Linked DNA regions of Homo sapiens: region 1 is linked to region 2. Evidence: promoter capture Hi-C in 16 types of primary human blood cells and fetal thymus (Javierre and others, 2016). All regions are on one chromosome and are shown on one strand. The core of a region is centred on a gene start or on the middle of the fragment in contact, and the rest is flanking DNA. Distances in the headings are between cores, read along the strand shown.

Region 1 (4,288 bases), core at 1,334-3,833, 700 kb after region 2:
AGGCCAGATGGTCTCAAGCAGATGTGAAGAAATGGTTATTGAGTCTCCTGTGTCTACAGTCACAACTCTATTCAGTCTACCCAATGCTGCAAAGTGTTGGGTGAGGGAGGCAGACAGAAAAGTCCTGTCTGAGCTCTGGGCACATGGGTGCCATCTCCTAGGGTGCCTAGGTCACAATGCAAACTTAAACCCAAGCCCCATCAACTTCTCCAGCTCTGTCTAGAATGTGGCTCCTTGAGGAGCCAGGTTTTCAAAAATTTTTATTTTTATTTATTTTAACTTTTATTTTTTCGAGATGGAGTTTCAGTCTTGTTGCCCAGGCTGCAGTGCAATGGCGTGATCTCGGCTCACCATAACCTCCGCCTCCCAGGTTCAAGCTATTCTCCTGCCTCAGCCTCCTGAGTAGCTGGGATTACAGGCATGCACCACAATGCCCAGCTAATTTTGTATTTTTAGTAGAGACGGGGTTTCTCCACGTTGGTCAGGCTGGTCTCGAACTCCCGACCTCAGGTCATCCACCCGCCTTGGCATCCCAAAGTGATGGGACCACAGGCATGAGCCACCGCGCCCGAGGAGCCATGTTTTCTAGGGGTGCTGGGGCCAAGGATCTAGGCTCCACGGGGCAGGGTGCTCTGCCCTGGTCCCAACTCCACGGGCCCTGCCTCCTTGCCCCAGCCTTGTCCCAAGCAGTTTCCTGGTGGTTGTAGACTTGAGTCAGGGGAGAAGTCACAGGAGGAAAAATGTGTTCCCGTCTGAGATGAACTCACTCCACCTAGACATTATGGAGTATGGTAGATGAGGTTGTGGGAACTATGAAGCCACCGCTTGAGAGTGCTTGTGCTTGGCATTTTGCAGAATTTCTGGCATGGCTGCCCCTGGTCAGCAGTGAATCTGAGAAAATCTGGGACCTCTGTGGCCCTGGCCTTGTCCTGTGGGACGGGCCTCCTGGAGCCAAGGGGGACTGGAATTGAGTCCACGTTGGATGTCGAGTCATTCTGGGAAGGGCTAGCTGTGGTTTCCAGGCCCTCTAAAAGGCTGCCCAGATACTGACCAAGAGGAGCCCAGAGATGGCCAGGCCAGAGCGAGTGCCAGAGCAGGTTGTCCTGCGGCCCAGAAAAAACTCTGATTCTAAAATCCTGAAGGTGCTTTGCCTCCAAGGGGCCTGCACGTTGAGGGACTTTTGAAAACAGGAGAGCTTTTCCACCATTGTCTCAGGGGCCTGTGCCCTTGCTTACAGAAAGAGTTAGACAGCAGCTCAATACATCCTTCCTAAGCACCTCTCTTCTACCCAATCCAGAAGCAGGCACAATGGGGAGAACGAGGGGAAGAGCTGAGAAGCTTTAAGGCTCAGGGTGTAGGAGCTTTGAGAGGCCATGGAGACCAACATGCCTTTTGAAGTAAAAATTCCTGCAACCACATCCCTGGTCATTAGATGTGGTCTTTGTCCTCTCAGAACAAACAGTTTAACAAAACCAAAGACATAAGCAGTGTTCCGGGGACTGGCAGTGTGCACATGGAGGCAGGGGGTTGTGGAGGCAGGGGGCTGTGCAGCCTGGAGTGTAAGTGCCAGGGGGGTCCTGAGCCCAGGGTGACCAGGGTGACCCATGCGAGTGGGACCATGTAGGACTGGAAGTGGGCCATCCAGACTAATAGATGGGAGTGTGAAGTGGGGAGTGTGAAGTGGTTAAATAATAATCATAAAAAGACACCAGGAGGAGGAAGAGGAAGGGGAGGGAGAGGGGAAGGGGAAGAACGAGATGATTAGAGAGACAGCAAGTTCCTCAACTCCCAAATCTCTGCTGCTTAAAATCCCACCATTAAATATTCATTTTGGGGAATTAAGTTTTGTGTTCTCTATTTTCATCTTTCAGAATGAAGCTTTCCTTGCTGAGAGAACATGTGAGGGCCCAAACAGGACATAAGAGGCTGAAAATCAAATAACAGGCAGATAGGAGAGGAATGAAGACAAACTCTGCCAATGTCACAATTTTTGCCGGAGATTAGCCAGTATGGCCAGCTGCTAGCCATGTCAACAGACAGGCTATGCAAGTACAGAGAAGACAGGGGAGGTCAGTGTGGACTAGGGGGTCAGGGAAGGCTTCATAATCCATTTGGGTCTTTACCCCCATTGACCTCAGGAAAACCCTGACATTTCACTTTGTTTCCCTGAAGTTCAGCCCTCCAAACAAATCTCCAAAATCAAGAGAGAAGCAAGGTCACTCTGACGCGCTGTGTTCTTGTTGACTTGTACAGCCTCTCCTTTCCAAAGCTCCCATCAGAGAAAAGCCCTTGAGAAGGTTTCACAGCAAAATTGTGAAGGTGCTGGGCTCTGAAGCCAGGCTCCACTGGCTGCATCTATGACCTTGACCTCCATCTCTCTGAAGCCCAGTTCCCTTATTTGTAAAATGGAACTGATGAGAGTACAGTCATTCTTTGGTGTCCGTGGGGGATTGGTTCTAGGACCCTCACTCCCCCAAGGATACCAAAATGTGACGGTACTCAAGTCCCTGATATAAAATGGTGTAGTATTTGCATATAACCTACACACATCCTCCCTATATTTTAAATCATCTCTAGATCACTTATACTTCCTGCAATGTAAATGCTATATACATAGCTGTTATACTGTATTGTTTAGGGGATGACAAGGAAAAAAAAGTCTGTTCATGTTCATCACAGATGGGACTATCTTTTTTTTTTCTCAAATAGGGTATTATCAATCCATGGTTGGTTGAATCCATCGATGCAGAGCCCACAGGTGTAGAGGGCCAACTGTATTTATTTCATAGGATTGTCATGAGAGCTGAACTATAAAATACACTTGAAGTACTTGGAATGCCAGGGACTGGGCATAGTGGCTCATACCTGTCATCCCAACACTTTGGAAGGCTGAGGCAGGAGGATCAATTGAGTCCAGAAGTTCAAGACCAGACTGGGCAATATAGTAAGACCTCATCCCTACAAAAAAAAAATTTAAAAATTAGCTGGGTGTGCTGGTGCACAGGAGGCTGAGATGGAGGGATCATTTGAGGCAGGAGGTCAAGGGTGCAGTGAGATGTGATCACATCACTGCCCTCCAGCTTGGGCAACAGAGCAAGACTCTGACTTGGAAAAAAAAAAAAAAAAAGCACGCCAGCCATTATGCTTGATAAATTTTGTTATTACTATCACTGATTTTCTGCAACTAGCCAAAGAATTCCTTGTCTACCTAACCAGAATGATTTTCACATTGTTCTTCCATTAATTCGATACTTACTTTCTGGGCACCTACTGTGAGTGGGAAGCTTTTCCGTCCTCAAGGAATGTACAACCCAAGTAGGAACAGTGAGACATTATCTTAAAGAGCGACAACATGGTGCAGGGGACAGGGATGTGAGTTGAACCTACAATGTTCCTGTATCAGTTAGGATTAGATCGGGCTACAAGCAAACTGAAAAGCCAACAGGATGGTGTGTTAAACAAGGTGAGAGTTTATTTTCTTCTCCTGTAAACAAACTCAAGAGGTAAACAGTCACAGGCTGGTGTCGTGGCTCAACCCTCGTTAAGGGTCCAGACTGTCCTCAACACGTGGCTTCTGCTCCAGGACACAGTATGGCACTTGAGCTCCAGCCCCGCCATCCTCATCTTCATCCTCATCATCATATTCATTCCAGCCACACTTGTAGAGCTTGTGCCAGGAACCCTTCTACTCACTCTTCAAATATGAATTCACGTAATCCTCACAGAATATCTACTGTTACGTAGATTTTCTTTTTATTCCCATTTTACTGCAAAGGAAACTGGCACAAAAGGGTTAGGTACTTGTCCAAAGTCACACAACTCATAGGTGGCAGGACTAGGATTTGAACTCCGCCAGCCTGGCTCCAGAGTCCATCTAGCCAGAGGAAGCAAAGAAAGGCATTCTCCTCCCTTTAATGTCGCTTTGGCCAGAACCTAATCACGTGCCCCTTCCAACTGCCAGGAAGGCTGGGAAATGCAGTCTTTATTTAGGACAGCAAAAACCCGGGAGTTCTATAACTGAGAAAGATGGGGAAATAAATCCTGGGGACCAATTTGTAGTCTCTGGCATGGACCCCTCTAAATGCACCCTTTCACCCAAAGTGAGACACCCTCAGCAATAATTCTGTATAACATGACCCTTCCCTTTGCCCCTGCCCCTAGAGAGGCTGGTCAGGGCTGAACTGGGATGAAGGAGGAGATTCCATCTTTCCATGTCAGACTGTGGCGTGTACCCTTGAGTACCATAAACAGTGGATTCCAGCCAAGTCTGCAAGGCCACAGTCTACAG
Region 2 (3,808 bases), core at 35-2,534:
CCAAATACCCCCAGTGATTTTTGGAAGTATTTACTGACATAAGATAAACTGTTTACAATTGTGGAGTGAATGCTCTTTTCTCTGAATCTCTGACTTCCTGTTTCTCTTCCAAATCCCAAAAAGGAAAGAAAAAGAAATGAAAGAATTATTCTACTTAGGCTTACCCTGATGAAGCGCAGCGTTAGTCTCTATGATATTCTTTAGTTTTTGCCTCTTAAGGGACAGCTTAACTGGGCTGGGTAATCGTGTGTGTGAGTGTGTGTGTGTGTGTGTGTGTGTGTGTGTGTGTGTGTGTTAAAAGATCTTTCTCGACGAGACTGAGGCATGCCTTGTTTAAGGAACCTTCTGACCACCACCTAGCCACCTAGCCCCACTTGGGCAACGCCTGCCCTTCGGTGACCCTGCCCAGAACAGCCGAGCTCCTCACTACATACTCCTCTGGGACACACCGCTGTGCGGGCCAGGCTTCCAAGACTGGCATTTTCACAAAGAAAGCAGTGACCCTCAGGTAGCCCACCACCAGAGCTTTTCCAATGTAAGTGGTTCGACTTCTATTTCCACAGCGTTACGCACAACAATATCGACGGGTAAAAAGTGTTGTCCTTTAAAAAGTGCCCCACTAACTTCGGGGACAGTGGTTTCCGGGTAGGTCACCTTAGGGTGCTTTGACGTGCCAGCAACTCGAGGTGTACAAAATGCTTCTTTAAAGTTTTGAGTTTAAAGTTTCGCCCCGGAGATCCTGGTGGATCTCCCGAAGCCTAAGGCGAGCGCGGCATCCCTGACCGCGCGGGTCCCTCGGCTCGGGGACCCTGGGCTGCCCCGCTGCGCCCCCGGGACCGCTCGCGCCGCGCCAGAAGCCCGGGCCCAGTGTTTCCAAACAGAACGTCACGGGAGCCCACGGGCGCGAGGGACCGCCGGCCACCGCCCCCTGCCCACCTCTCCCGGCGACATCCAGACTTGGGGGCCGACTCTGGGCTGTGGCGGGAGGTGCAGCGGCGGATCCCGAGTCAGCCCGCTCCGTCCCTCTCGTCCCCGCCTTCCCGCTCCTCCCGGCGCCCCAAACCTCGGCCCCGCGAGCCCCCCTGGACGGGGCGCCCTCAAGGGGGCGGGGATCCCAGGGTGGCAGGAACTCTGGAGTGGCCCCTCGTCCCCGGGCTTTCTCACCTGTCTATCTCAGCAGCGGGTCCCCGGCCGCAGCGCCCGATGTCCCGGCCGCGACTGGCCCCCGGGATCCCCGGACTCTCAGCCCGCGCCCGCCTCAAGCCGAGCTCGGAGAGGGCGGGGAAGGGCACCGCCTCCTCCAGGGACTGGCAGCCGGTGTAGCCAATGGGAGACCACAGCCGACCACCGGGCGTCACCGGGGGTGTGGCTATAACTTTGGCTCCTCCCAGTCCCTGCCCCAGGAGGGAGCTCTGTCCTGGAGTGGTACCCCTAACGTCCCAACTGCGAGACTCCAGAGCTTGCTGCAGCGGCCGGTCACCTTCATTCCACTCCGTCTGCCTGGACTGTTGCAGCACCCTCCCTTGGTCTCCCAGTCTGAAGTCTCTCCTCTTGCCAATCCACCCTTCATCTTCCTGCCAGGTTAATTTCCTTAAGAGCAGTTTTGATGAACAGTGTGCCAAAGACTTTCATTGGCTTCCGTTTGCTTAAATTATCAAGAACAGATTCCCTAGTCTAGTGTTCAAGGTCTCCATCCCGTCTTTTCAGGTTTATTTCTCACAGCTGCCCTTCACACACCTGAGACTACTGCTGTGCACCTCGCCACCCGAAGGAAGTGGCACTAGGAGCGTTTACATGCTATTTCCTGTCTCCACTTCAAAAAGCTCAGAATAATCTTCTCACCGGGCGCAGTGGCTCACGCCTGTAATCCCAGTACTTTGGGGGACCGAGGCAGGTGGATCACTTGAGGCCAGGAGTTCGAGACGAGCCTGGGCAACATGGTGAAACCCTGTCTCTACCAAAAAAAAAAAAAAAATATATATATATATATATATATATACACACAAAAAAAAAAAATTAGCTGGGCTTGGTGGCGCTCACTTGTAGTCCCAGCTACTCAGGAGGCTAAGGCTGGAGGATTGCTTAAACACAGGAGATGGAGGCTGCAGTGAGCCGCGATCATGCCACTGCACTGGATCCTGGGCGACTGGGCGAGATCCTGTCTCAAATCATCATCATTATCATCATCATCATCATCATCATCTTCTCCATGTAACTATGTCTGTCGCTCCACCTGGCAGAAATGTCGTCTCTGGGCCGGGCGCAGTGGCTCATGCCTGTAATTCCAGCACTTTGGGAGGCCGAGGAGGGCAGATCACGAGGTCAAGAGATCGAGACCATCCTGGCCAACATGGTGAAACCTGGTCTGTACTAAAAATACAAAAATTAGCTGGGCGTGGTGGTGCACGACTGTAGTCCCAGCTACTCGGGAGGCTGAGGCAGGAGAATCGCTTGAACCTGGGAAGCGGAGGTTGCAGTGAGCCAAGATAGCACCACTGCACTCTAGCCTGCCTACAGAGCAAGACTCCATCTGAGACAAAAAAAAAAAAAAAGGTCTTCTCTGGTTTCTGCTCCCTGAACATCTAGATTTTTGCCTCTCTTGGGGCTTAGCTCCCTCTGCCTTATGCACAGCTCCTCACATCTCTTTTAGACTGTGAGCACTTTGAAAACAAGGATTTGTGGTTTTTTTTTTTTTTTTGCATTCTCCTCAGCACAGAGCATATTGCATAAGTAAATTAGTGATAATTTAAATCCAGGTGAATTTTACATCCCAACTTAGGGTCTGGAGAGGTCAATCTCAGGGTAAAATAAAGAGAATTCTGAATGTTATGGATAATCGTTCCCCAGGTCACAAAGCTAGGTCAGACAGATTATTCTCTTTGGTTCACAGTTGGCCAATAGAGAGTATCAGAAAAACTTTTTCTACTACAATCTTTTTTTTTTTAACTTTATCTCATCTTATATAAAACACACACACACACACACACACACACACACACACACACACACACACACAGAGGATGGGCACAGTGGCTCATGCCTGTAATCCCAGCATTTTGGGAGACCAAGGCGGGCAGATGACTTGAGGTCAGGAGTTTGAGACCATCCTGGCCAACATATCGAAACCCCATCTCTACTAAAAATACAAAAATTAGCTGAACATGGTGGCATACGCCTGTAATCCCAGCTATTCAGGAGGCTGAGACAGGAGAATCGCTTGAGCCAGGAAGGCAGCAGTTGCAGTGAGCTGAGATCGCACCACTGCACTCCAGATTGGGTGACAGAGCAAGACTCTGTCTCAAAAAAAAGGAAAGAAAAAACCACAAAAGAGATAAAGATTTTCAAAGTTTCTCAGAGGAAAAGCAATAAGTGAATACAACTAAAAGTCCAGTAAGCAAGTATCAGGCTTTCATATTTCTTCCAGATGAGCATTAATTTTGAACAGGATCCCAGACTACCCCCACACATCAAATTCCTTTTGCCTTCTGTGGGAGCTGATGATGCATATCATATGAAAAATTGTCTTCAAACAGCTTTGGCAAACAAGCAGACTGGACTGGGCTTATTTTATAGAGCACGCAGGAGTTAAACAAACAGAGTTTCAGTAACTTGCATAATTTAACACAGCAAGTCAGTAGAGACCAAGCAGGAGAAAGAGAGAAAGAATGCCAAAATAGAATCACTTCCGTTTGTGAGTCAGAAATACTAATTAGACTAAAAGAACTGAGTGAATAAAGTCACTCATGAAAAGCCGCTTTGTAAACACGGCTGCCACCCTTGTAAGGCTTAGCCAATATTTACTTACTGT

Evidence for each region. Contacts are between HindIII fragments. The CHiCAGO score rates a contact against its expected background, and 5 or more counts as called.
Region 1: a fragment that was not itself captured here is called in contact with the fragment with the promoter of PLEKHH2 in region 2 in 6 of 17 cell types (total CD8 T cells, activated CD4 T cells, naive CD8 T cells and 3 more); the score reaches 9.6 in total CD8 T cells.

Annotation. Positions count from the first base shown.
Region 1 is chr2:42,939,648-42,943,935 of GRCh38, reverse strand. LOC112268413 (a long non-coding RNA gene) reads right to left here and starts at 2,903. Exons shown (of 3, transcript XR_002959381.2): 1 at 2,866-2,903. The HindIII fragment of the contact is 1,406 bases long and covers 1,881-3,286 here.
Region 2 is chr2:43,634,736-43,638,543 of GRCh38, reverse strand. PLEKHH2 (pleckstrin homology, MyTH4 and FERM domain containing H2) reads right to left here and starts at 1,284. Exons shown (of 30, transcript NM_172069.4): 1 at 1,165-1,284. RefSeq lists a silencer at 1,051-1,380. The HindIII fragment of the contact is 11,276 bases long and covers 1-3,808 here.